Linked DNA regions of Homo sapiens: all the other regions are linked to region 4. The links are contacts of gene promoters, found by promoter capture Hi-C in blood cells and fetal thymus (Javierre and others, 2016). All regions are on one chromosome and are shown on one strand. The core of a region is centred on a gene start or on the middle of the fragment in contact, and the rest is flanking DNA. Distances in the headings are between cores, read along the strand shown. Region 1 overlaps HERC1 (HECT and RLD domain containing E3 ubiquitin protein ligase family member 1). Region 2 overlaps HERC1 (HECT and RLD domain containing E3 ubiquitin protein ligase family member 1). Region 3 overlaps HERC1 (HECT and RLD domain containing E3 ubiquitin protein ligase family member 1). Region 4 holds the start of SNX22 (sorting nexin 22). Region 5 overlaps HERC1 (HECT and RLD domain containing E3 ubiquitin protein ligase family member 1). Region 6 overlaps HERC1 (HECT and RLD domain containing E3 ubiquitin protein ligase family member 1). Region 7 overlaps HERC1 (HECT and RLD domain containing E3 ubiquitin protein ligase family member 1).

Evidence for each region. Contacts are between HindIII fragments. The CHiCAGO score rates a contact against its expected background, and 5 or more counts as called.
Region 1: a contact is called between a fragment that was not itself captured here and the fragment with the promoter of SNX22 in region 4, in 1 of 17 cell types (M2 macrophages). The highest score is 6.2, in M2 macrophages.
Region 2: a fragment that was not itself captured here is called in contact with the fragment with the promoter of SNX22 in region 4 in 1 of 17 cell types (M2 macrophages); the score reaches 6.8 in M2 macrophages.
Region 3: a fragment that was not itself captured here is called in contact with the fragment with the promoter of SNX22 in region 4 in 1 of 17 cell types (M2 macrophages); the score reaches 6.2 in M2 macrophages.
Region 5: a fragment that was not itself captured here is called in contact with the fragment with the promoter of SNX22 in region 4 in 1 of 17 cell types (M2 macrophages); the score reaches 5.0 in M2 macrophages.
Region 6: a contact is called between a fragment that was not itself captured here and the fragment with the promoter of SNX22 in region 4, in 6 of 17 cell types (M2 macrophages, naive B cells, M0 macrophages and 3 more). The highest score is 7.1, in M2 macrophages.
Region 7: a fragment that was not itself captured here is called in contact with the fragment with the promoter of SNX22 in region 4 in 3 of 17 cell types (M2 macrophages, naive B cells and M1 macrophages); the score reaches 6.4 in M2 macrophages.

What each region holds. Positions count from the first base shown.
Region 1 is chr15:63,745,631-63,748,769 of GRCh38, reverse strand. HERC1 (HECT and RLD domain containing E3 ubiquitin protein ligase family member 1) reads left to right here. Exons shown (of 78, transcript NM_003922.4): 11 at 912-1,046; 12 at 1,687-1,852. Among named protein-coding and RNA genes, the nearest start is that of HERC1, 87 kb to the left of the region's middle. The HindIII fragment of the contact is 5,044 bases long and covers 1-3,139 here.
Region 2 is chr15:63,699,660-63,702,918 of GRCh38, reverse strand. The region is part of intron 25 of HERC1 (HECT and RLD domain containing E3 ubiquitin protein ligase family member 1); the gene reads left to right. Among named protein-coding and RNA genes, the nearest start is that of USP3-AS1, 100 kb to the right of the region's middle. The HindIII fragment of the contact is 1,177 bases long and covers 1,013-2,189 here.
Region 3 is chr15:63,729,720-63,732,932 of GRCh38, reverse strand. It overlaps HERC1 (HECT and RLD domain containing E3 ubiquitin protein ligase family member 1), which reads left to right. Exons shown (of 78, transcript NM_003922.4): 14 at 1-9. Among named protein-coding and RNA genes, the nearest start is that of HERC1, 100 kb to the left of the region's middle. The HindIII fragment of the contact is 7,228 bases long and covers 1-3,213 here.
Region 4 is chr15:64,149,796-64,153,232 of GRCh38, reverse strand. It overlaps SNX22 (sorting nexin 22), which reads right to left and starts at 1,502. Exons shown (of 7, transcript NM_024798.3): 1 at 1,383-1,502; 2 at 907-990; 3 at 491-595. The coding sequence starts at 1,457. RefSeq lists silencers at 797-1,176, 1,377-1,816 and an enhancer at 2,734-2,843. The HindIII fragment of the contact is 12,291 bases long and covers 1-3,437 here.
Region 5 is chr15:63,663,453-63,666,881 of GRCh38, reverse strand. It overlaps HERC1 (HECT and RLD domain containing E3 ubiquitin protein ligase family member 1), which reads left to right. Exons shown (of 78, transcript NM_003922.4): 41 at 410-526; 42 at 732-963; 43 at 2,288-2,412. Among named protein-coding and RNA genes, the nearest start is that of USP3-AS1, 64 kb to the right of the region's middle. RefSeq lists a silencer at 724-894. The HindIII fragment of the contact is 322 bases long and covers 1,899-2,220 here.
Region 6 is chr15:63,679,662-63,683,088 of GRCh38, reverse strand. It overlaps HERC1 (HECT and RLD domain containing E3 ubiquitin protein ligase family member 1), which reads left to right. Exons shown (of 78, transcript NM_003922.4): 35 at 2,313-2,552; 36 at 2,929-3,012. Among named protein-coding and RNA genes, the nearest start is that of USP3-AS1, 81 kb to the right of the region's middle. The HindIII fragment of the contact is 1,578 bases long and covers 1,269-2,846 here.
Region 7 is chr15:63,642,044-63,645,054 of GRCh38, reverse strand. It overlaps HERC1 (HECT and RLD domain containing E3 ubiquitin protein ligase family member 1), which reads left to right. Exons shown (of 78, transcript NM_003922.4): 57 at 1-63; 58 at 1,505-1,651; 59 at 1,997-2,098. Among named protein-coding and RNA genes, the nearest start is that of USP3-AS1, 43 kb to the right of the region's middle. The HindIII fragment of the contact is 772 bases long and covers 1,365-2,136 here.

The DNA of each region.
Region 1 (3,139 bases), core at 322-2,821, 400 kb after region 4:
AGAATGTATTTTATTTGCATTCTATGCCTTTGACTCAGGGTTTTAAAATGATACTCTAACCAATTAAAAATATTTATCAATAGTTATTCCTCTAACACAAAAGCCAAAATAAATAAGTTGAATATAAATAATTTGCTATTAGCATTACATCTCCAACTTCCCACTTCATATGTAGATAGTTGGGTCCCAAGAACTGAAAAGTATTAACAAGAAATTTCAGGATTTTGTCTTTTAATAGATTTCAGTATATCACTCTATAGAGTCAGGATATTTTTCTTAATATGAAATATATATTTTCTGGACTCTTAGAACCAGAGGGGCTTTAGTAGATCATGTGACTCAGCCCTCTGCTTTCAGGTGAGTGGACATCCAAACCTTCCAAAACAGGTGGTGGTTGTATGTTTTCTTCTTAAAGATGGCAAATTCTTGGTTTTCCTTAGTTGCTAAAATGAAAGGTTTTATCACTTTCATAATCAGTAATGTCTTCTTTGTATCTTGTTGAACTCATTCAGCTTTAATGTATATATGTATATATATATTTTTTGAGATGGAGTCTCACTCTGTCGCCCAGGCTGGAGTGCAGTGATACAGTCTCTGCTCACTGCAGTGTCTGCTTCCCAGGTTCAAGCGATTCCCCTGCCTTAGCCTCCTGGGTAACTGGGACTACAGGCATATACCACCATGCCCGACTAATTTTTATGTTTTTAGTAGAGATGGGTTTTCACCATGTTGGCCAGGCTGGTCTTGAACTCCTCACCTCAGGTAATCTGCATTCCTTGGCCTCCCAAAGTGCTAGGATTACAGGCATGAGCCACCGTGCCCAGCCAATATATGTTTTAATTTTCGTTTTTGATCGTGCATAAAAATTTCATTTTAAGACTGTTTTATTATTTTCTTATGTGTCCTTCTAGACAAGTTGTTGCATGGCACCGACCTTATTGTGTAGATCTTGAAGAGAGTACCTTCTCACACCTGCGTTCTTTTCTTGAGAGATACTGTGATAAAATAAACAGTGAGATTCCCCCACTCCCTTTCCCTTCATCAAGGTATGTTATATGTATGTTTTGTATCTTTGTGTGTGTGTGTGCGCGCGCGTGTGTGCATGTGTATAAATTATTCCTTTTGAGTTTTGACTTACTGTTCTTTCTTGTTTGGTTTCCCAAATTATATGAAACTTTTTTATAATCTAGAAAAGAGCTAAACTTAGATACTTGTTGATAATAACTTCTAGGAAAAAGTTACTTGTAATTTCACAAATCATGTTTTAAAAATTACTGTTGTTCATGACTTGACAAAATTTTTTTTTTTTTAAGATGGTGTCTTGCTCTGTCGCCCAGGCTAGAGTGCAGTGGCATGATCTCAGTTCACTGCAGCCTCTGCCTCCCAGGTTCAAGTGATTCTCTTGCCTCAGCCTTCTGAGTAGCTGGGATTACAGGCACCCGCCATCATGCCCAGCTAATTTTTGTATTTTTAGTAGAGGCGGGGTTTTGCCATGTTGGCCAGGCTAGTCTCTAACTCCTGACTTCAGGTGATCCACCCACCTCCGCCTCCCAAAGTGCTGGGATTACAGGCATGAGCCACCGCACCTAGCCAACAAAATTTTTAAAGATATAAAAATGTTACCCAAACTGGATAGCACAGGCACTTTTATGATCCGAGAATTCATAGACGTTTATTTGGTTTCAGAGAACACCACAGTTTTCTCAAGCTGTGCCTGAAGCTACTTTCAAATCACCTTGCTCTTGCACTTGCGGGAGGGGTAGCTACCAGCATTCTCGGGAGGCAGGCAGGTCCACTTCGAAATTTGCTCTTCAGACTGATGGACTCAACTGTCCCAGATGAAATCCAAGAGGTAAGAGAATAGGACTTGTGAATCTGTATCTCAAACCACGTCTTTCTCTGAGATTTTAGCTATACAATATATTCAACTGTACATTGGACAATTTCAATTGGATGTTGTTTCCCTTACTCCTGTTTTCTTGGTGAGAGTATTTTTGGTTAACTCATCCTTGAGACAAAGGTCAGATGCCATCTCTGATAAACTTTTTATTCCTGCTCTCCCACCAGATTTGGTTTTTCTTGTATATGTTCTCATTACATCACATTGTATTCTAGTTGCTTATTTACAAACATGTCACTCTTTTTTCACCAGAAGATGAGTTCCTGAGGGCAAGGACCTAGGGCATGGCTTGGTCAGTAGTAGTAACTGAATAAGTGGACTGGATCATCTACTAGAACTGTAACCAGAGCTAAGGAGAGAAAGGTCAGCTTAAGGAGGAAGAAGTGGCCTAGAATAGAATACTGGTTATAAATAAGGAGAGTATAGTTTAAAAAAACATATTTAGTATTATAATACAATGTTAAATTTGGGGGAAACTTAAAAATATCTATATATTTGTAATACAAAATACAGAAAATAAACTCTTTTGGTAGGTAATAATAGAAAGTACAGTAATTTTTAAACCAGTGCACTCCTAAATTATCAGTGGATCAAAGAAAGAAATTACAAGATAAATTTAATACTTAAGATTAATGAAAACAAAAACTTAACATACCAAAACTCATGAAATGCAGCTAAAGCTGTGCTTGGAGGAAAATTTATAGCTTATAAACATCTATATTAAAAAAAATATATATCGAATCAGTAATTTAACCTTCTACCTTAAGAAATTAGAAAAAGAAGAGTCAACTCAACCCAAAGCAAGTAGAAAAAAGGAACTAATGTAGATTAGAGTGAAATTAAAAAAATAAAGAACAGAAAAACAATTGAGGAGATCCAGGAAACTAAATGTTTGTTCTTTGAAAAGACAAAATCAACAAACCTCTGGCTGGACTGACCAAGAAAAATGAGAGAGGACTTAAATTACTCAAATCAGGAATGAAAGACAAGATATTACTACTGACCCTACAGAAATCAAAAGGGAAATTGAGAGGCAGAGCAAGATGGTGGAATAGAAGGCTCCACTGATCATTCCCCCTGCCAAGGACACCACTTTAACAACTCTACACAGAAAAAACCACCTTCATAAGAACCAAAAATCAGGTGAGCACTTACAGTACCTAGTTTTAACTTCATATCACTGAAAGAGGCACTGAAGAGATAGAAAAAACAGTCCTGAATAGGCAGTGCCACTCCTCC
Region 2 (3,259 bases), core at 352-2,851, 450 kb after region 4:
TTGGCCAGGCTGGTCTTGAACTCCTGACCTCGTGATCCCCCCACCTTGGTCTCCCAAAGTACTGGGATTACAGGCGTGAGCCACCATGCCCGGCCAGCTAAATTTACTTCTAAAAGAGGTGGATGAAACATTTCTTCTGCTTAGCACCTCAGAGGCAATATGAAATTTGTATTTAGTAAACATTTATAAACTACTTACTATATGAGCATTGTTCTAAGCCCTTCACAAATATTATAGTAACTCATTTAATTTTCATAACAGCCTGATAAAATTCTTGACAAAACCTGTAAAAATATGTTAGTAATTTGGTACTTTGATAAAACTTAAAAGATTTGCTATGGTTGTACGATTGTTTACAGAAAGACAATACGTTTTTGCAGATACTTGATTTTAGTTTTCATATTTAAGCTGAAGATGATACAGTGAAAAGTTGTGGGATATCAAAACAGCAACTTAAGCAGCATCAGAAATCTTATTAGTTAAAATACTGTGTGGTTTGATTATCGCCCCTAATCTTTAAATATTTTGATAGGGTTTTATTGCTAAAATAATACTGGAAACATTTATCAACATGTGTGTTTCATGGTATAACATGTATGGGTGAAATGCTATTTTGTCTGTGCATTTCAAATTAGATGATATAAAGAAAAGCGAATGTAAATGTTTCTCTCCTGTATCAAATTTCTCCTTTTGTTTTCTGATTCTCGTGTGGTAGTGTATTTACTCCTTTTTGGCCAGTTGAGCCCCAGAAAAAAGAAGAGCTTCAAGCAAGTACATGATGGCATGTTTAATTTTTTTCCCCTTTTAGCTTGCCTACATATTTTATGGTTTATAAAGTATGTATTGCAGCTCTGCCATGTTCATTTTGAAAATTCCATTTAAAAACCAAACTTGTAAGGACAAGTAAACAATCTCAAAAATTTTTTGTTGGATTTTGTATTTTCTTTATATAGTAGGTGATTCTGAATTAGTATTAAGAATTGGGCTTAGTCTCAATTGTTATGTAGAAGCTTTTAATGCCCTTTTCAGATATAATATTTCCTGTATTCAGATAGTACAGAGCAAACCAAAGTTATCAGATTGTTATACTTAAAAAAAAAATTAAAGTTCTTTCCTCTCCCATTTCCATATTATAAATTTTTGTGTTTTAAGTCTTTTTGATGTCAAACTAAATATTTTGATGGAAATTATTTATCCTGATGCTTCCACATAGTGTGTTTCCTGTTCTTAATATTTTATTTATACAAAGTTACATTTGGGTTAATTTCATCCGTTAGGGCTCAGCAGACTACAGCTAGGAGGCCAAGACTGACCTGGCATCTATTTTTATCAGGTTTTATTGGAACACAGCCACACTCATTTATTTAAGTGGTTGCTTTCATACTACAACAGCAGAGTTGTGTAGTTGTCACAGAGACCTTATGGTCTGCAAAGCCTAAAATATTTACTGTCTGGCCCTTTACAGAAAAAGTTTGCCAACCCCTGCTTTAAATTGCAGAAGATTTAATTTTGGGCTTCGTCAGCCATTCCATAGAATATTTTGGTTTATATGAAGACAGTTCAGTATTGGTAGATTCATAATTGAACCTTTATATAGGCAGGCAATTGAAATTTCCATCAGTGATTTGTGAGTTGGTTAATAATGAATATGTAAGACTACCTCCCATAAAATTAAGGAATTAATGTCATTATGTGACAAACCAATTTTTTTGTGCCTCTGTTTCCTCATTTGTGAAAATTGGACTAAATAATCTTTAAGGTCTCTTTTTCTTCTGCAGTTCTAATATCAGTTCCTTGCGCATTTTATATTCATTTTGAAAAGTAATTTATAAGTATTAGTAACTAGAAGAACCTTTTATTCTAAAATTTTAATATTTAAAAAAAAACACCCCCCCAAAAAACAAGTTCAATGTGAGGAGCCAGAATCTATCATTTGTAAGTTAAGGCTAAATACAGATTCTGAATTTGAGGTGCTTTAAGGAAATGAAAAAAGAATGTATATATTTTTTACATTAGCCTCTACTTTATTCTTTAAATATTTTTAACTTAATACATTATGCATCTATGATATTATTCTTTGAATTTTCAGTTTTTTCTGTGTCACATGAAAGAATATTCAGGTCTACAATTTGGGGAAATTTTTAGGTAGGTTGTTATTTTTCATGTTCAGCAAGAATGAAAATTAAGCTTTTTTTTTTTTTTTTTTTTTTGAGGCAGGGTCTCGCCCTGTCACCCAGGCTGGAGTGCAGTGGTGAAAATTAAGCCTTTTTAAATCTTAATAATTCTTTCTAAAACACAGAAGGCAGATAAACCATATATTCTTTGCCATTCTACATTATTTTACTAGGATACATATAAATTATTTCATAGTTACTTTGTAATATTAGCTCCGTGTTACGAATTTTGAAATCCTAGGGTTTAATTGACACCAGTATAGTAATTCAAAAATAAGATTCTACATTGAATATTGTTGTTAGTTTGTTTTCTCTGTGGGCATTAGTGTTTAAGTAGTTATCTTCCCAAACTTTTCTATCTAGTTACATAACTGATATAATTTTTATGCATATTTAATTGGGTACCTTAAGATACTTCCCTAATTGAGAAATGTAGTATATTCACATAATAGGATGTTATACAGCAATCAAATAAATGAACCATGGTTACACTTAGTAATGTGGATGAATATTAGCAATATTATATTGAATGAAAGAGTGTGTCCAAAAAGGTGATATAAAATGATACTCTTTTTTAAAAGTCAACGACAACTAAAACCATTATTCATCTTAGGAATACATTAAAACAATAAAAACAAGGAAATAATAAACCCAGGCCTCAGGATAATAAAACTTTAGGTAGCAAGAGATGGGCTGGAGGAGGAGCAAATAGATAGAAGTTACTGTTAGTTTTCTAGTTCTTGTGTTCACAGATATTTATTATAAATATGTGATTTCAAAATTGGGCCATGCATGGACCAATGATGAGAGTATGTCATGACGAAAGGATTGTAGTTAATCAAATTTATGTATCTGAGACCAGTTAAATTAAAGATTTGTAAGAATTGGACATTTATATATTTATTTAAAGCTAATATTGACAAATGACTTGGACAGTTGCTGTTATGTTCAAACATGTTAACATTTTGCTGTCTAATGTAAAGATTTTAGCTTAAAAAATACCCACTGGCAAATCTAATGGTATTATATTTAGCAACTATTTTGATGCCACTTGATAATTTTATATAGGTATCATTTTACAGTAA
Region 3 (3,213 bases), core at 560-3,059, 420 kb after region 4:
TTTTATACAGTAAGTTGTTCTTTCATTGTAGTAAAAAAAGAATAAAGGGGTAGGGATCTCTTTAGTCAAGGTATTTTGACATTTAAACACCTATGATAGAAATCAAACTCTAGACCCCTCTCCCCCAAGGGGAAAAACATGTCAGGGTTTCTGAAATATTGTGGGGACAAAATAACATGTAATTGAGAATTTCAAAGGGATTTATTTTAGAATTTTACCAGATTTTTCTGATATTGTAGAATAATAAACAGAATAAAATAGGAACATTTTTAGAGAGAAGAATAATGAGCAAGGGATTAACCTTGCCAGTTATAATCTTATAATGAAACAATGTACTTGGAACTGAATGAGAATAGGTTGGTCAGTAGGATAGAGGACAGTGGACCCTATAGCTTTCCCTGTATTAGTATGCCATTAATTCTAAATCTCTAGTGTTTCTTAAATTCATCTTTTTTTCCTGCCATTTCTTTGAGTTCTAAGCCAGATCATTATGATTCAGTGCTAATAATGTTATAGCTATTGTCACTATTGCTGGTTTCTTCTCAGCATCTTACTGCTGGAATAACTTTGTATTAAATAACTTCTTTATATTAAAGAATACAACTTCTTTGTATTAAATTAAAACCCCTTCAGGCCAGGCGCGGTGTCTTATGCCTGTAATCTCAGCACTTTGGGAGGCCGAGTTGGGTGGATCACCTGAGGTCAGGAGTTTGAGACCAGCCTGGCCGATATGGTGAAACCCCGTCTCTACTAAAAATGCAAAAATTAGCCAGGCGTGGCGGCTGGCATCTATAGTCCCAGCTACTCAGGAGGCCGAGGTGGGAGAGTTGCTTGAACCAGGGAGCAGAGGCTGAAGTGAGCTGAGGTCGCACCACTGCACTCCAGCCTGGGTGACAGAGCGAGACCCCATCTCAAAACAACACCACCACCACCACCACCCTTCAGACCCTTTATCATCGGCTCACACACCATTCTTATCTGAAATCATCCTTTTCCAGAATTGTACATTGTACACGTATTTCCTGTTGTTTTTCTCTACCAATCTGTGATGTAAGACTTGACTATTCTAGGAAACCTTGCCCAAATAACCCCATCTAGCCAGAGATGCATATAGCTACACATCTCTGTACTCATCAGCACTTACAGGATCAGAGTGTACTGTGTAACTTAACTTTGAATTGTTTGTGTATCAATTAATATTGTTTCCTGTGGCTCTTCAGGGTCTGGTCTACGTACTCTTTTTCTTCCAATACAAGTCTTAGTGCTCTATCCCGCCCACATTGAAAGGCTGATCACTAAGTCAGAGTGAACATTCTTCCTACAAAATTCTTTTCTTTCAGATTTAAAAATGTAAATTTAATCTGATGTTAAGGAGTAATGGCTGCAAATGGATAAGAACAATATTGTGTATATAGCCATTTGTTAATGACCAAAAATTTTTCCCAAAGTTATAAGGAATGTTACAACAAAGTTGAAAGGAATATTAGGGCTAAGGCAGATTTATATATTATATGGAAATGGAAATAAAATACTAACTGCTTTTGGGTAGAAATAATAAATTATTGTCTCTTTCTGATGTGATTTAAACCAAATTTGTTCTAAGATTTTAAAATAATGGTCCTAATTAACAACTTAGAGCAAGGGCCCTACAGTGTTCTCATATTGTCTTGTATATTGTACACATAAACCAAATTTTCTGCCTAAAGATATTCAGCACATGATTATTTACAGGAAAAAAAGTTGGAAATAACAGAAACATCTAAAAATAGAGGAGTGGTTAAGTAATTTATGGTACATGTGTTCAATGGAATATTTTATCATATTTTATATACACATGGTTTATGAAAATGTGTAAAACATTTATGATTCCATTGGAAAAGAGCAGACCAAAAATAGAATATGCAGTACAATATTATGAAAAATATTTTAAAAGGACAAAGGAAAGAAATACACCAAAAAATATTATAGTAGCAGTCACTTTCTTTGAGTAGTTGTTTAAATGGTGCTTTTAACTTTTTAAAATAGAGTTTTGATATTTTCTAAATATACAAAGCATCTCTTTTTAAAAAATATTTTTAACTTGAAGTAATTTAAAACTCACAGAGGAGTTATAGGAATCATTCAAAGAATTCCCCTGTGCTCTTCAGCCAAATTTGTTCTCTCTCTCTAAATCATTTGAGAGTAAATTGCAGATGGCTGGCTGCCGCTAAGTATTTAAGCATATATTAAGTATGTATTTTTAAAAAACCAGGACATTTTCTTATGTAACAAGAGAATAATTATTGAATTCACAAAATTTAACATTGATACAGAACTGTTATTTAATATATAGTCTACATTTACATTTCTACAGTTGCCCCTATAATGTCCTTTATAGCAGTTTCTGACCCCAGCCCTTCCTCTTCATGATCTTGTCCAGAATCACACATTGTATTTAGTTGTCATATCTCTTTTTTAATTTTAATTTTAATTTTATTAGAGACAGGCTTTCTGTTGCCCAGGCTGGAGTGCAGTGGCACCATCATAGCTCACTACAGCTTCGAACTCCTGGGCTCAAGTGGTCCTCCCACCTCAGCCTCCCAAGTAGCTGGGACTAGAGGTGTGCACCACCATGCTCAGCTAATTAAAAAAAAAAATTTTTTTAGAGGTGAAGTCTTGCTGTGTTGCCCATGCTGGTCTTGAACTCCTGACCTCAGGCAGTCTTTCCACCTCGGCCTCCCAAAGTGTTGGGACTATAGGTGTGAGCTACCGCACCCAGCTGCTTTTTTTTTTTTAATGGAAAAAACAAATAGAAGTAGCTTGATGAATTTTACCATCTAATAGCTAGTATCATAAGGGTTATAGCAAATACTTAAAAATTGGTAATGGGAGAAAGGATATAATGCTTTTTTTTTTTTTTTTTTTTTGAGACATAGTTTCACTCTTGTCGCCCAGGCTGGAGTGCAATGGCGTGATCTTGGCTCACTGCAACCTCTGCCTCCTGGGGTTCAAGCAATTCTCCTGCCTCAGCCTCCCCGGTAGCTGGGATTACAGGCACCCACCACCACGCCTAGCTAATTTTTGTATTTTTTAGTAGAGACCAGGGTTTCACCATGTTGGCCAGGCTGGTCTCAACCTCCTGACTTCAGGTGATGTACCTGCCTCGGACTCCCAAAGTGCTGGGATTACAGGTGTGAGTCACCGCACCCAGCCCATATAATGCTGCTTAAATCA
Region 4 (3,437 bases), core at 253-2,752:
GAGGAGACCTGCAATCAGACCCAGCTACTAATTTGCATAGCGCAGTGCCAGTGAAAATGCAGGGCTCTTTGTTCCAAAAAAAGAATTTCACGACAATGACAGCAGAGCGTTGAACCAGGCTCAGGGCCCTTCTGGGCGCTGGGCGCTGTGTGCACAGGTTGTACCCCATGACGCGGCATAGCTTTGCTGTTGGGGGAAGGACCCTCACCCTACATGCCATCAGGAGGGCAGCACAGGACCTCACCATGGAGGGGACAGGACCTGGGTTTCATGGAGCTGGGACTACCTGTGTCCGTTACCTCTTTCAGTCCTTTCAACAAGCCAGAGGGGGGTGTTTGGACCTATATTAGACTCAGAAAATTGATGCTTGAGGTGGTGAATAACATCCCCAAGTTGTGGGTTCCCTCCCTGCCATGCCCCCACACCTCTCTGTCTGGGCCACACCCCTGGCACAGAAGGCCGGGGGGCAACCAACTGTGCTCTCGCATACCTGGATGTAAGCCTCCAAGCCCTGCCGGCGCTGTTCCAACCCTCTGGTCCTCCAGTTGGGCAGGCGTTTCGAGGGGAAGTCGGGCACTTTGTACAGCTTCTTGATCTACTGGAGGTTTACCGCGTGCGATCACAGCATCCCGACTGAGCCCTCAAGCCCTCTTCGCCCCAGCCAGAAGCCCTCCCGCGCCCCCGCCTTCGGGCTCTACTGGGACAGACCCTGGTGAGTGGTGGACCGGCCGAGGGCGAGGAAGGCCCCAACCCACCCACAGAGGCCCGGGGGCTGACCGGCTGCGCAGGGACTGAGGCAGTAATGGGGGTGGCGGAGGCTGGGGCTCGCCCGCCCGCCTCACAGGGCCTGGGCGGGGGCTGGACAGAGGCTGGGCCGGGGCCGGTGGGAGGTCGGCGCCGCCTCACCCGCTTGTGCAGCGCGTGGAACTCGCTGTAGCGCCTTGGCACCGTGTGTCTGCGCCCGCTGCACAGCACCTCCACTCGGAACACCTGGCGGCGCGGGCGGGCAGCGGGTCTGCGCGTGAGGCCCCGCGGGAGGACGCCGCAGCACCTGCGCCTGGCGACGTGCCCACCCTCCCGCTCTCAAAGGCACAAAGCGGCCTTGCGGCGCCGCGGCTGCCCGGGGACTCTCCGCTCCCGCACACCTGGGAGAACCGGCTGGCGGACCTGCCCCTCGGAGCCCTGGGGTCCCTCAAGAGCTCGAACCATGGTCCGCGAGGCTGGCAAATCCAAGCGGCCCCCAAACCCTCGACAAGGTTTCCCCCGACGGTCCAGCCCGCAGCGCTCGTTCACCCAGGCCCGGGCCCCGGGTCCCCACTGAGCGCAGCGCGGGGAAATCCTGCGGGTCCCGGCGCCCCTCCCCATCCAGGGGCCGCGCTCACCATGTGGCTTTTCTCCGGGCTCTGCCTGGGCCCCTCGGCCTCGGGCCCCACCGACGGGATGTGAACTTCCAGCATCCGCGCCCCGGCCCCAGCTGCTCCGCGCGCTCGGCTCGGAGCCCTAACTCTCCCGGAGCGGACTGAGGACCCCGGGGCGGCCGGCTCCGCCCCCTCGGTCCGCAGGCCCCACCCCAGGCCCCGCCCCCAGGCGACCCCGCCCCGGGCGTTCCCTTGCGCCGCGGGTCCTGAGCCTAGAAGATTAGGCGGGACCTGGACGCCGCCCCCGAAGTCTAGTGCGCCCACAGCGCGGGGCAGTGGAGTCAACCGTTTGTCAAACATTGACGGAGCACTCACTGATGCCAGGAACTGGCGAGCGAAAATGTCACCCAACCTGAGTTAAGCGCCTACCAAGGACGGCCTGTGGCTCCAGGCGCGGACGGAGGCGGGGCCCGGGCCTCAGCGCCGGTCCTGGGGCCAACCAGGGACCTGTCTTGGGTTCCTCAGTCCCTTCCCGAGCCTTTCCCTCCTTTCAGCCTGGTCCCTGAAATTGTGATCTGGATTCCCCGGCTGAGGCCACACCTGAGCAAGGCTTGGACCCAGTCCAGCTTTGATGCCCCTTTCCCCAGCATCCACAGGCCCCCCCATTCATTCATTGTTTTCATCCATCCATTCACTCATATCTTCCAACCCTAAGGGGCTCCAGGCTGTTTGTGGGGAAGAGGCAGTTTAGGGACCTAGACTCCGATTTGGACGTCAGACTGCCTGGATTTCAGGAGCTCCGTAGACCTTTGCTCATCTGCAAAATAGGGATAACGTGGCTCCTTCAGGCAAGTGTATAAAGTGAGATGATTTGGCCGGGCGCGGTGGCTCACGCCTGTAATCCCAGCACTTTGGGAGGCCGAGGTAGGCGGATCACCTGAGGTCAGGAGTTCGAGACCAGCCTGACCAACATGGTGAAACCCCGTACCTACTAAAAATACAAAAATCAACCAGGTGTGGTGGCACATGCCTGTAATCCCAGCTACTCAGGAGGCTGAGGCGGGAGAATCACTTGAACCTGAGAGGCGGAGGTTGCAGTGAGCCGAGATCAAACCATTGCACTCCAGACTGGGCAACAGCAAGACTCTGTCTTAAAAAAAAAAAAAAGTGAGATGATTCATGTTAGGCCCTTAACAGAAGCATTGAGCAGCAGCTTGACTGTGGGCTTCTCCTGGATGACTAGGATAAGTGGGCACAGGGCAGTGGATGGGAAGAGAGACTTTGGGGGGTGGCACCGGGTTGCTCTTGTCCACCCCTCCGGGCAGGTTCTTCCTGGATATGTGGCAGGATTTTGATCCAGAACTCTCTCAGGCCATGTGCTGGAAAGGACCTCTGCTCCCACCTCTCAGCCCTGCACCCTTCAGCTGTCGGAGAGCTGCTATCAGCAGCACCATGGCAGGTCCTCTACTCCACTGACTTCCCCCACAAAGGCCCCGTGACATGCAGAGAGGCGAGGCCCTGCCTTCCAAAGCTCATACGTAGTGGGAGGTCTTGGGGTGGGCAGGAGGAAGCAGAGTGCCTGTCTTCGGGGCTGGGGTTGAGGGGACTCACCCCTCCCCTGCTTCTGCAGAGACGCCTCTGAGCTGGAGCAAAAAACCTCCATCCCCAGCCCTGCCCCCAGAGAAGGGCTGAGATGACGACCCCAAAATGGGGCAAACAGGTCTCACCAATATCATGTCCCACATTCTCTTTTTCCAAATTGCATCACACAAGGACCACAGAATCAGGAAGCTGAAACTTCCCAGATTCTAGTGGGGTCCCCTAGAAGAAAAGCAGCCCAGAGTGAGGAGAAGTGCTGTGCTTTCATTTCCTCCCTACGGCCCCATCATTCAGGGACCCAGCTTTCCCTGGCCTACAGGGCCTCCCCAACTCCCACTGTCCAGGGAGGCCTCTCCTGGGATCCTCAGACTTCTTGGTCCTCATCCTAATGACTGTCTGCCCCTCTGTCTGTGAGTCTCCATTTTTTCCTGCCTTCATCCCCAATAGAACGTCCATTCTCTACCCTGCAGCACAAACTGT
Region 5 (3,429 bases), core at 810-3,309, 490 kb after region 4:
GAGCATCACCTTGTTGGACCTCAGCTGTGAACACATATGTTGAGGGACTAAACTTTTTAGTCCCTCTGCATATGTCACAAATGACTACAAAAGTACATGAGTATTGATTTTGAGATTACAAATAAATTTTATTGAGTATACAGATTTACAAATATGGAACTTGGATGAGGAGTGGGTTATTTACATACTCTTATAGTACCTCTACACAAATCTTTACAAAGTATAACATAAATGGATGTTAGTAAAACTGGGATTACAGGTGTGAGCCACAGTGCCCAGCCACATATTCTGAGTAGAGGAAAATTTCATTAAACTTGGACAATACTAGGAAATTGAGGACTATGAAGACACTTTTTACTCACGGTATCTAGTGATATTTAGGTTCTTATTTCTCTTCCTTTTGTCTCAGCCTTGTCAGACCCAAGCAGTAGACTTTCAACTTCTCCTCCTCCTCCAGCAATTGCAGTTCCCTTGCTGGAAATGGGGTTCTCTCTTCGGCAGATTGCCAAAGCCATGGAAGCTACAGGTAGGATAAGTTTTTATATATCAGTGTATACAGATATGAGAAGTCCTAGCTTATTAAAGACAACATAACTTTTAAGAGGCTATGAAACTTGGTAAGATTTTTAACACTATATTTTGTTACAAGAGCATCATAGCAAACACTCTTATAACATAAAGACCTAATTCTTTGCCCAAAGTCAGCATCAGACTGTTTTTCCCCTGTATAGGTGCTAGGGGAGAGGCTGATGCCCAGAATATCACTGTCCTTGCCATGTGGATGATAGAGCACCCTGGGCATGAGGATGAAGAGGAGCCCCAGTCGGGCAGCACAGCAGACTCTAGGCCTGGAGCAGCCGTTCTAGGCAGTGGCGGGAAGTCAAATGATCCCTGTTATTTGCAGTCACCTGGAGACATACCATCAGCTGATGCTGCTGAAATGGAGGAAGGTTTTAGTGAAAGGTGAAATTCCAGTTTCTGTACTTTTGTTCCATGTGTTATAAATTTCAAAGCCCCATTTATTATATATCCCGTCATAAATGCTTCTAATTGTATGTAAAGTTGATAAATATAGTTATATGAAAAGATGGGCATTTTAGTTACAAGTTTATATTTCTGTGAAGGGTAAAAGTGACATGACAAGTTTTGATTTGAGTAGGTGTTTTCATGCCAGAAGAAATTTCATAATTTTTGTGTAAAATTGTACTGAAAAAGGAAACAAGTTTATTTTGAAGTAAACATGCTAATAAAATAATTTTATCTCGTACAAGTGATATAAAATCGAGTATTCATTTTAATATTGGACATTGATTTAATGTATTTGATAGAATTGAACTTTTTTTTTTCTGAGACGGAGTCTCGCTCTGTCGCCAGGCTGGAGTGCAGTGGCGCGATATCGGCTCACTGCAGCAACCTCCGCCTCCCCGGTTCAAGCAGTTCCCTGCCTCAGCCTCCCAAGTAGCTGGGACTATAGGCATGTGCCACCATGCCCGGCTCATTTTTTGTATTTTTAGTAGAGACAGGGTTTCACCATGTTGGCCAGGACGGTCTCGAACTCCAGACTTCGTGATCCACCCACCTTGGTCTTCCAAAGTGCTGGGATTACAGGCATGAGCCACCGTTCCTGGCCTAGAATTGAACTTTTAAGTCTTCTCTGTGTAATATTTATATTTTCATCTCTTCTATAGTTTTTAATATCTAGTAGAAGATGCCCCTTTAAGTGTAAAAAGATTGCTGTGATAATGCCTATCCTAAAATGAGATGTATAGAATATCTTACAAATTCTCCCTAAAATCTTTTTTCCTTCATCACTTCTTATGACTTTAAATCTTTATTTTTCATTTTAACTATGGAGCCATATAGTAACCAAGGCTTGTGTCCTAGATGGCATGCAAGCTTTTTCCAACAAGCTCAGTGAATATTTTCATAACGTATTTCAAAATACCTGTTTTTCCTAGGCAAGAATTCTCAATCATTTCAAATTTTAAGTATTTAATCTTTTAGGATTTAGTTAAGGTCATATTTGATCTCATTTAAATTTGAGCTTCATTAAACATCATTTTGTTGTTGGAAGAATTCAAAATCAGACAAAGTTATTGCTCAGGTCACAGGAAATGTTATATGCATAATTGAACTGTTCAAGGGATAAAGATGTGTTTCAAATTTTATCATAAACATATTTTATTCTCAATGAGAATAAAGTAGTACTACAAGTAAGCTTACACCTATGCTTTCTTTCCATAATGGTTTCAAAAACTTTGTGTTGCTTTCTCACTTGCACTTGTAGCCCTGATAATTTGGATCATACAGAGAATGCAGCTTCTGGAAGTGGACCATCAGCTAGAGGTCGCTCAGCGGTAACAAGAAGACACAAGTTTGACTTAGCTGCTCGCACACTGCTAGCAAGAGCAGGTAATTTTATGTTCCGTATCCTTTTCTTTGTGAAAGATCTTATTTTGAAAGCAATGTAAAGGCACATTAAAGAAGATTCAAACTAATGATACTAAGTGCTCAGTCCCTCCACATTAACAGAACAGCTATTTGGATATCATTTTCTATGCATTTACATAATTTTATTTAAATCGTAGCATACATTCATAGGCTTATTTTTAAGTTTCCCTGGGTGCAGAAGTCTATACTGGCCACTTGTAGATTTTGAGAAATTATATAAATGCTCTTCCTTCTGCTCTCAGTCAATTATAATTTAAGAAGTGATGATGCATGTTTAATGTTTAGCATCAGTGGTAAGAAGGAGCTGGAAAGGGCACTGTGCCAAAAAAGTAGGCCCTGGCTTTTCTGATGTACTGCTCTGTGGTTGTTAGGGCTTCACTGCTAGATAAGGACCAGATTCCCTCATTACATTAGTAAATTCTAGGATTACGTTCTGGGCATGTAAAATATAAATTATAGGGAATATATTTTCCAAACCAAAAACTTGAATATGTGATTTGTCAAAACAGAATTTGATCACTGAAATACTATAACATGAGTAATGATTCAGTAATTTACAGGAACAGTGAGAGAACTGTATATTTCTCATATAATTAAGGTAACTGATTTTTTTTAAAACCTAAAAGAATAGTAATAGCCAATATTTATTGAAGTTTTTTTCTATATGATTAACATTATATCAGTGGCTCATGCCTATAATCCCAGCACTTTGGGAGGTGGAGGCAGGAGAAATCACTTGAGGCTAGGAGTTTGAGACCAGCCTGGGCCACATAGCAAGACCCTGTCTTTACAAAAAAATTAAAAAACGGTTAGCTGGGTATGGTGGCATGTGCCTGTAGTCCTAGCTACTCAGAGGCTGAGACAGGAGGATGTCTTGAGCCCAGGGGTTCAGGGTTACAGTGAGCTGGGATTGTGCCATTGCACTCCAGCTTGAGTGACAGATCCAGATCCTGTCTCTAAAAACAGCAACAAAAACAT
Region 6 (3,427 bases), core at 808-3,307, 470 kb after region 4:
GCTCGGCTCCCTGCAACCTCCACCTGCCAGTTTCAAGGGATTCTCCCGCCTCAGCCTCCCGAATAGGTGAGACTGGAGGCACGCATCAGCATGCCTGGCTAATTTTTGTGTTTTTAGTAGATATAAGGTTTCACCATGTTGGCCAGGCTGGACTTGAACTCCCAACCTCAAGTGATCTGCCTGCCTCGGCCTCCCAAAATGCTGAAATAACAGGCATGAGCCATTGTGCCCAGCCTTTGCATCTTTTTTTTTTTTAATCATACATCCAGATGTAGTTGCCACAAAATAAAGCTGTTTTTAAAAGTTTTCTTCCTCCCTTCTCACATCTTAAGTTTACTCAAACCTCTAGCAATAAATTTAGCATTTACAAGGTAAATTGTGGCAGGGGGAGAACCTGCTGTAGCAATAGCAAAAGCTCAGCTTAAGAAAATAGCTGGAGTAGTTCCTTTCTATTCTTGTTTGTTTGTTTTTGTATATTTTGTAGAGATGGGGTTCTTGCTTTCTTGCCCAAGGTAGTCTCAAACTCCTGGCTTCAAGCAGTCCTCCCTCCTTAGCCTCCCAAAGTGCTAAGATTACAGGTGTGAGCCCCTGCACCCACACTCAAAGCTGTCAGGGGTTTTTGAACCCTTTCCCCTCCCACTGGAGGAGAGAGCAACTACAAGCTAATTTTTCTACTCTGGCTCATCTAAAGCCCACTTGTGGGAATATTTGGGCCCTTTCTCCTCAGGAAAGAAGTTGTTCCTGGAAGAAAGAACAGCACAGTTTTTACCTGAGCTGCTCTTTTTTCCTAACTTTAGCTAGCAAGGCCAAGAGCGTCTGGGGTAGCAAACCAACTCTCTTGTGATTGGATTTATCTTAAAAATTGATAGGTAACTTTTGCCCCTCACAACAGATAGCAGTCCACCTTCTGTTTCATACTATGTGTAACTCCATAGCCACCTAGGTACCAGAGTTTTATCTTTTCCTTTCGTCTCTTTCTTTTTCCCCAGCAATATTTAACTATATTCTAATGCATCAGGGTTGTTCTAGTGAATCTCATTGCTGCCACTGCTAAGTCATGAGTCCCCAAGACCACCCTCACATTCAGAGATTCACTAGAAGGACTCGTCAGACTCCACACGTTGATACACTCATGACGGAGACTTATATTATAATGATGCGGTAAGGATATACACCCAGTTAATAAGGGAAGGACACAGGTGAGGTATAGAAGAATCCTGTAGGCTTCCTTCTGTTCTCTCCCTGCCATGAGCACAAGTGCACAAGCTTTCCCCAGCAAGAAAAATAACATGTGTGTGATGTTTCTAGAGAACCCCATTAGAGATTCAGAACCCAAGGTTTTTACTGGGGGCTGGTCACGTAGACACCTTCAACCTGACATGTACCAACATTTCATACTCCCAGAAGGAGAGCAGGTATTCAGCATAAACCACATTGTGTGTTTAAATGTTCTAGGTCAGTGAGCCACCTTTATCACGTAGGGGAAGTTTTTTTTTTTTTAAATCAGTGTAAGAAACTTTACCAGTCAAATTCCCAGGTCCTAGCCAAAGGCCAGTGTTGCAAGCATGCCTTTTTGAAAATAGTAATAGTCACACTAGGTGTAGTGGCTGATGCCTATAATCCCAACACTTTGGGAGGCCGAGGTGGGAGGATTGCTTGAGGCCAGGAGTTCAAGACCAGACTGTGTAACATAACAAGACCTCATCTCTACAAAAAATAACTAGCCAGGCATGATGGTGTACACCTGTAGTCCTAGTTACTCAGGAGACTGAGGCAGGAGAATTGCTTGAGCCCAGGAATTTGACGCTTCAGTGAGCCATGATCATGCTACTGTACTCCAGCCTGGGAAACAGAGTGAGACCCCATCTCTTTAGAAAATTAAAAACAAAACAAAACAAAACAAAACAAAACAATACACCTAGTCTCAGGCTTAATATATTAACTCTTTTTCTAAACAGAGGTATATGCAAGAGAGTAGTTAAAATCTATATGTAAAGAATTAAAGTTTTCATTAATTTCTGGACTAAACATACTTCCTCAGCTTCATTATTAAGTTGTAAGTTAGAATTGCTTATTTTAAATACTATAGATATTCAAAGGTTATTCTAAATGCCCTGCAAGATAAAGAATGTTTTAAAATCTTTCTAAATTGATGCGATTATTTTCGTGTTATTTTTATTTATGCTGAAAATAACATGTTTCCATAAATGCATTAGTATTATTTATAAACATATTTTCAGTATTGGTTAATGCAGTTAATAGTATATAAATAGATTTTTTGAGTATTAATGAATATCCCACTTTTATTTTAGTTTTATATTGTGAAGGAAAACAGAGGTAATGAAGGCACGTGTGTTGGAGTTTCTCGCTGGCCAGTACATGACTTTAATCACCGCACTACCTCGGATATGTGGCTCTATAGGGCCTACAGTGGTAACCTCTATCACAATGGAGAACAGACTCTCACATTGTCCAGCTTTACTCAAGGAGATTTCATTACCTGTGTGTTAGACATGGAAGCCAGGACCATTTCTTTTGGGAAAAATGGAGAGGTACCGACACCCATTCACAAGCATTACATTTTTCTTGTTTCTATTTATAGTCAACTCGGTTATTCAAGTGCCACGTATTCAGTTTATAGATTATCTGCTCGTCTCTCCTTTCTCTCTAATACTTTCTGGTTCTTAAAACATTTATTAACAACAAACAGGAAGATAGTAAAACCCCAATAAGATTTTTGAAACAGATGAACACATTATGATCACTTATTATATGTAGAATTTTCTCGGTTAGCAAGGTTAATTGAGAATTTGATCTAGTAACTTTTGTTCTGTCTCATAAAAGCTTTCAATTCTAATGTGGTTAGATATTGTGAATTAAAAAAATTTCTATTTCCTTTTTCTTTTCCTCACTGCTGCCACACTGTAGGAACCCAAATTAGCTTTTGAAGATGTGGATGCAGCAGAGTTGTACCCATGTGTGATGTTCTATAGTAGCAATCCAGGGGAAAAGGTAATGAAGTCTCAAACCTTTATTTAAGAATATTTGTTATTTTATTGTTTAGCATCAGATAGAGTTTATAAATATAATAAGCTATTTCTTCTGCCATTAAAAGTACTTGACTTAGGTAATCCATTCTTCTAGAAGAAGGTTACTTTCAGAAATTGACTTTACGATATATTAATATTAAGGCACTATTTCATGTTCTGGCAATTTGAATACAGTGAGTCAACTTTCAAACGTGCAGTCACAAGAACTACAAGACCTAGTTTAGGGATAATCTAATTCACTGGCAATTATGGGTATGAGAGAGAAATCTAGAAATAATTTTAAATGTAATAAGATGCTATCAGCTGAATAATAGAAGTTGTAGTCATCATGAGGAAACTACCTTTCATTCAGCTGGGGGAATTTTCAGGTGTTGTAG
Region 7 (3,011 bases), core at 501-3,000, 510 kb after region 4:
GATACTACACAGACCAATGTGACTAGTGCAGAAGGATGGTGGGAGCAGGAATCAAATTGCCAGGTAACATTCTGGTGTTTTTGAAGACTGTCTGAAACTATGGAAAGTATATGACATCAGAGTCATTCTCCCTTGGTTACTAAAAAAGTCATTACTATATCCCAAAGGGCAAGATCCATTGGGAAATATAAGTAATTGTCATCCTGAATTAGCTTAATTTTTTATAAATCAGAGATACCATAATTGCTTGGTAAAATGAGATATTCTATACATATTAAGTGGTGACTGTTACTGTGATAGTGGATATAATTGATACTACAGATAGACGAGTCATAAGTTGTTAGTACATTAAAATAGAAACTCCATGGGAGCACATCCATCCAAAGAATCTCCAACTGATGCCAGAATCCTTGCTATGAAGAATGATTTATTTATATTAAACAGAAGTTACAAATGTATATATTTATAGAGAGCCCTCTAGGCGAGTAACATAAATTCATGAAGCTAGGGTTAGAAGGTTTGGAGAGGGTAAAAAGCAAAAACAGAAAAAAAAAACAAAGAAGCTTACATGCTTTATATAAAGGCACACAGCTGATTGTCAGTTTCTAGAATTAAGAGCCTGTTGTTACCAGATTGTTTTATTTTTTCTATAGATGCTAAGAATCCAATGTTTAAGTAAAATCTCCCAATATTAAACATTGGCACCTAACTTAAAATTGTTTAAAACACTGAGTGGCCAGTCAGATCGCATCTCTGAGCTACCAGTTTGTACATTCTGTTGCCTTCCTTTTGCTCATGATACCCTTGGAAGAAATACACTTTACATCATCTTTGGGTAGTGAATACATATAGTATTATGTTGTCATAACTAAAAGGAAGAAGGAGCTTAAGGATGGGGAGAAAGGGTGGAGAGGGAGGGAAGGAGTAGCCAACTCACTAATAGGAGAATATCACAGCAGTGGAGGTGGGAGTACTACAGATAGGTCTGGTTTACTCTTTGTGCTGGAGGGCAGCCCTATAGACAGGCCTTACCTATGTCACTTCTAAAGCTTGCAGAACAAATGTGTGACAGACAGAACCATTAGCCAACAAAAAGAGGAATCTATTTATATAGAGTCAGCATGTGCAGTTCACAAATGTTAGGGGATAAAAATGAAAATTACATGAAGTGAAAATTTAAAAATCAAAACACTGGTTAAAAAGTAGTCAGTATTTTCCTGTCTCTGAGGGATAATTAGAACTTTGAGATGTTATTTCTGTAGTTTGAAGAGTAGAAAACTAGTTTAGAAATATATTTTTTAAAAAAGATGAAAGCTTCAACAAAGGGAATCAGATTGATATTTTATTACTGATTCAGTCAAGCTTACTATCCTTTATGAGAGAAATTATCTCTCCCCCTTGCCAATTTTATTCTGAAATATAAAATTTCCAAGAGTGAATGATAAATCTTGAACTTATATAATTTATCTTTATTTTAATGCATGTTAAAAATAATGAATTTCAGGATGGATATAGGAAATCATCAGGAGCCAAGTGTGTTTATCAGCTGCGGGGACACATCACTCCTGTTCGGACTGTTGCCTTTAGTTCTGATGGGTTGGCCCTGGTGTCTGGTGGACTAGGTGGGCTCATGAACATTTGGTCTTTAAGGGTAAGAGCATAGATTTTATTTTTATGTTAAGGAATATTTTGACACTAACTTAAACACATGTGATAAAAATTAACCAATTGTAGAAACATTTTATATAGTAATCTCTTGAATACTGAGGAAACTTCTTTCAGAATCCTCTGCCCTTACATTTTTCTTACTGATGATAAGTGTTTTTAAAATCAGCTGTGTCCTAGAAAATTTTGTAGTAGGTATGTGATTGGACGTTGCTGAATTTAGCTAAAATGTAGACTTTAGAATATGTTTTTGTCAATGTGAAATAGAAATTTAAATGTAAATTATACCTACAGTTCAATGGTGTGTATTGGTAAATATATCTCATTTTAGGATGGCTCTGTCTTGCAAACTGTTGTGATAGGCTCTGGAGCTATTCAGACCACAGTATGGATTCCAGAAGTTGGAGTAGCTGCTTGCTCAAATAGATCAAAGGTAATATTGTAGTTATATCAAATGATAGGGTGTAAGCTTGTAAGGAACTTTAGAAATCATAGTCTAACCACCCCACTTTATGGAGGAGAAACCTGATGTCCAGAGGGATTACTACTTGTCCAAAACAGTGCAACTATTTAGTAGCAGAAGGAGAATTAGAACCTAAGTCTCCTGATTTATAGTCTAGTGTTTTTTCTACTACACCCCATACTTTGGTGACAGTGCTTAGATATTGAACAATTTCATTTCCATTGGAAGTGATAAAGTAGATTTTGACTTTCTGCCATGATTTTTGACAGTAGCACTAAACTATCTCAAGGCCAGGTGCAGTGGCTCATGCCTGTAATCCCAGCACTTTGGGGAGGCTGAGGTGGGCAGATTGCTCAAGGTCCTGAGTTCAAGACCAGCTTGGCCAACATGGTGAAACCCCATCTCTACTAAAAATACAAAAATTAGCCAGGCGTGGTGGCACATGCCTATAGTCTCAGCTACTTGGAAGGCTGAGGCGGGAGAATTGGTTGAACCCAGGAGGCAGAGGTTGCAGTGAGCCGAGACTGCGCCATTGTACTCCAACCTGGGTGACAGAGTGAGAGCCCATCCCAAAGGAAAAAAAAACTCTCTCAAACAATTTTTCCTTGAAAAGGAGAAGCATTGCAAAGACATTTAACTAAGTATACAAAATATATCTTGGCTTTCAAATTTAATATTCTAGTAAAACTGCTGGTCCCCTGCTGTGAAGTAATTCTATGATATAACATTATTCCCTACAGTATTATTTTTCATACCCTTAAAGATTAGAGCCGATGTGCTGATTTGATTTACATTTTATATGGTTAAATGATGTTAAAATAAGCTGTAAACCTTCATGAAAGGTTCTACTGCAAGTAAAATGTAGAATCAGACCCTAGGCAGT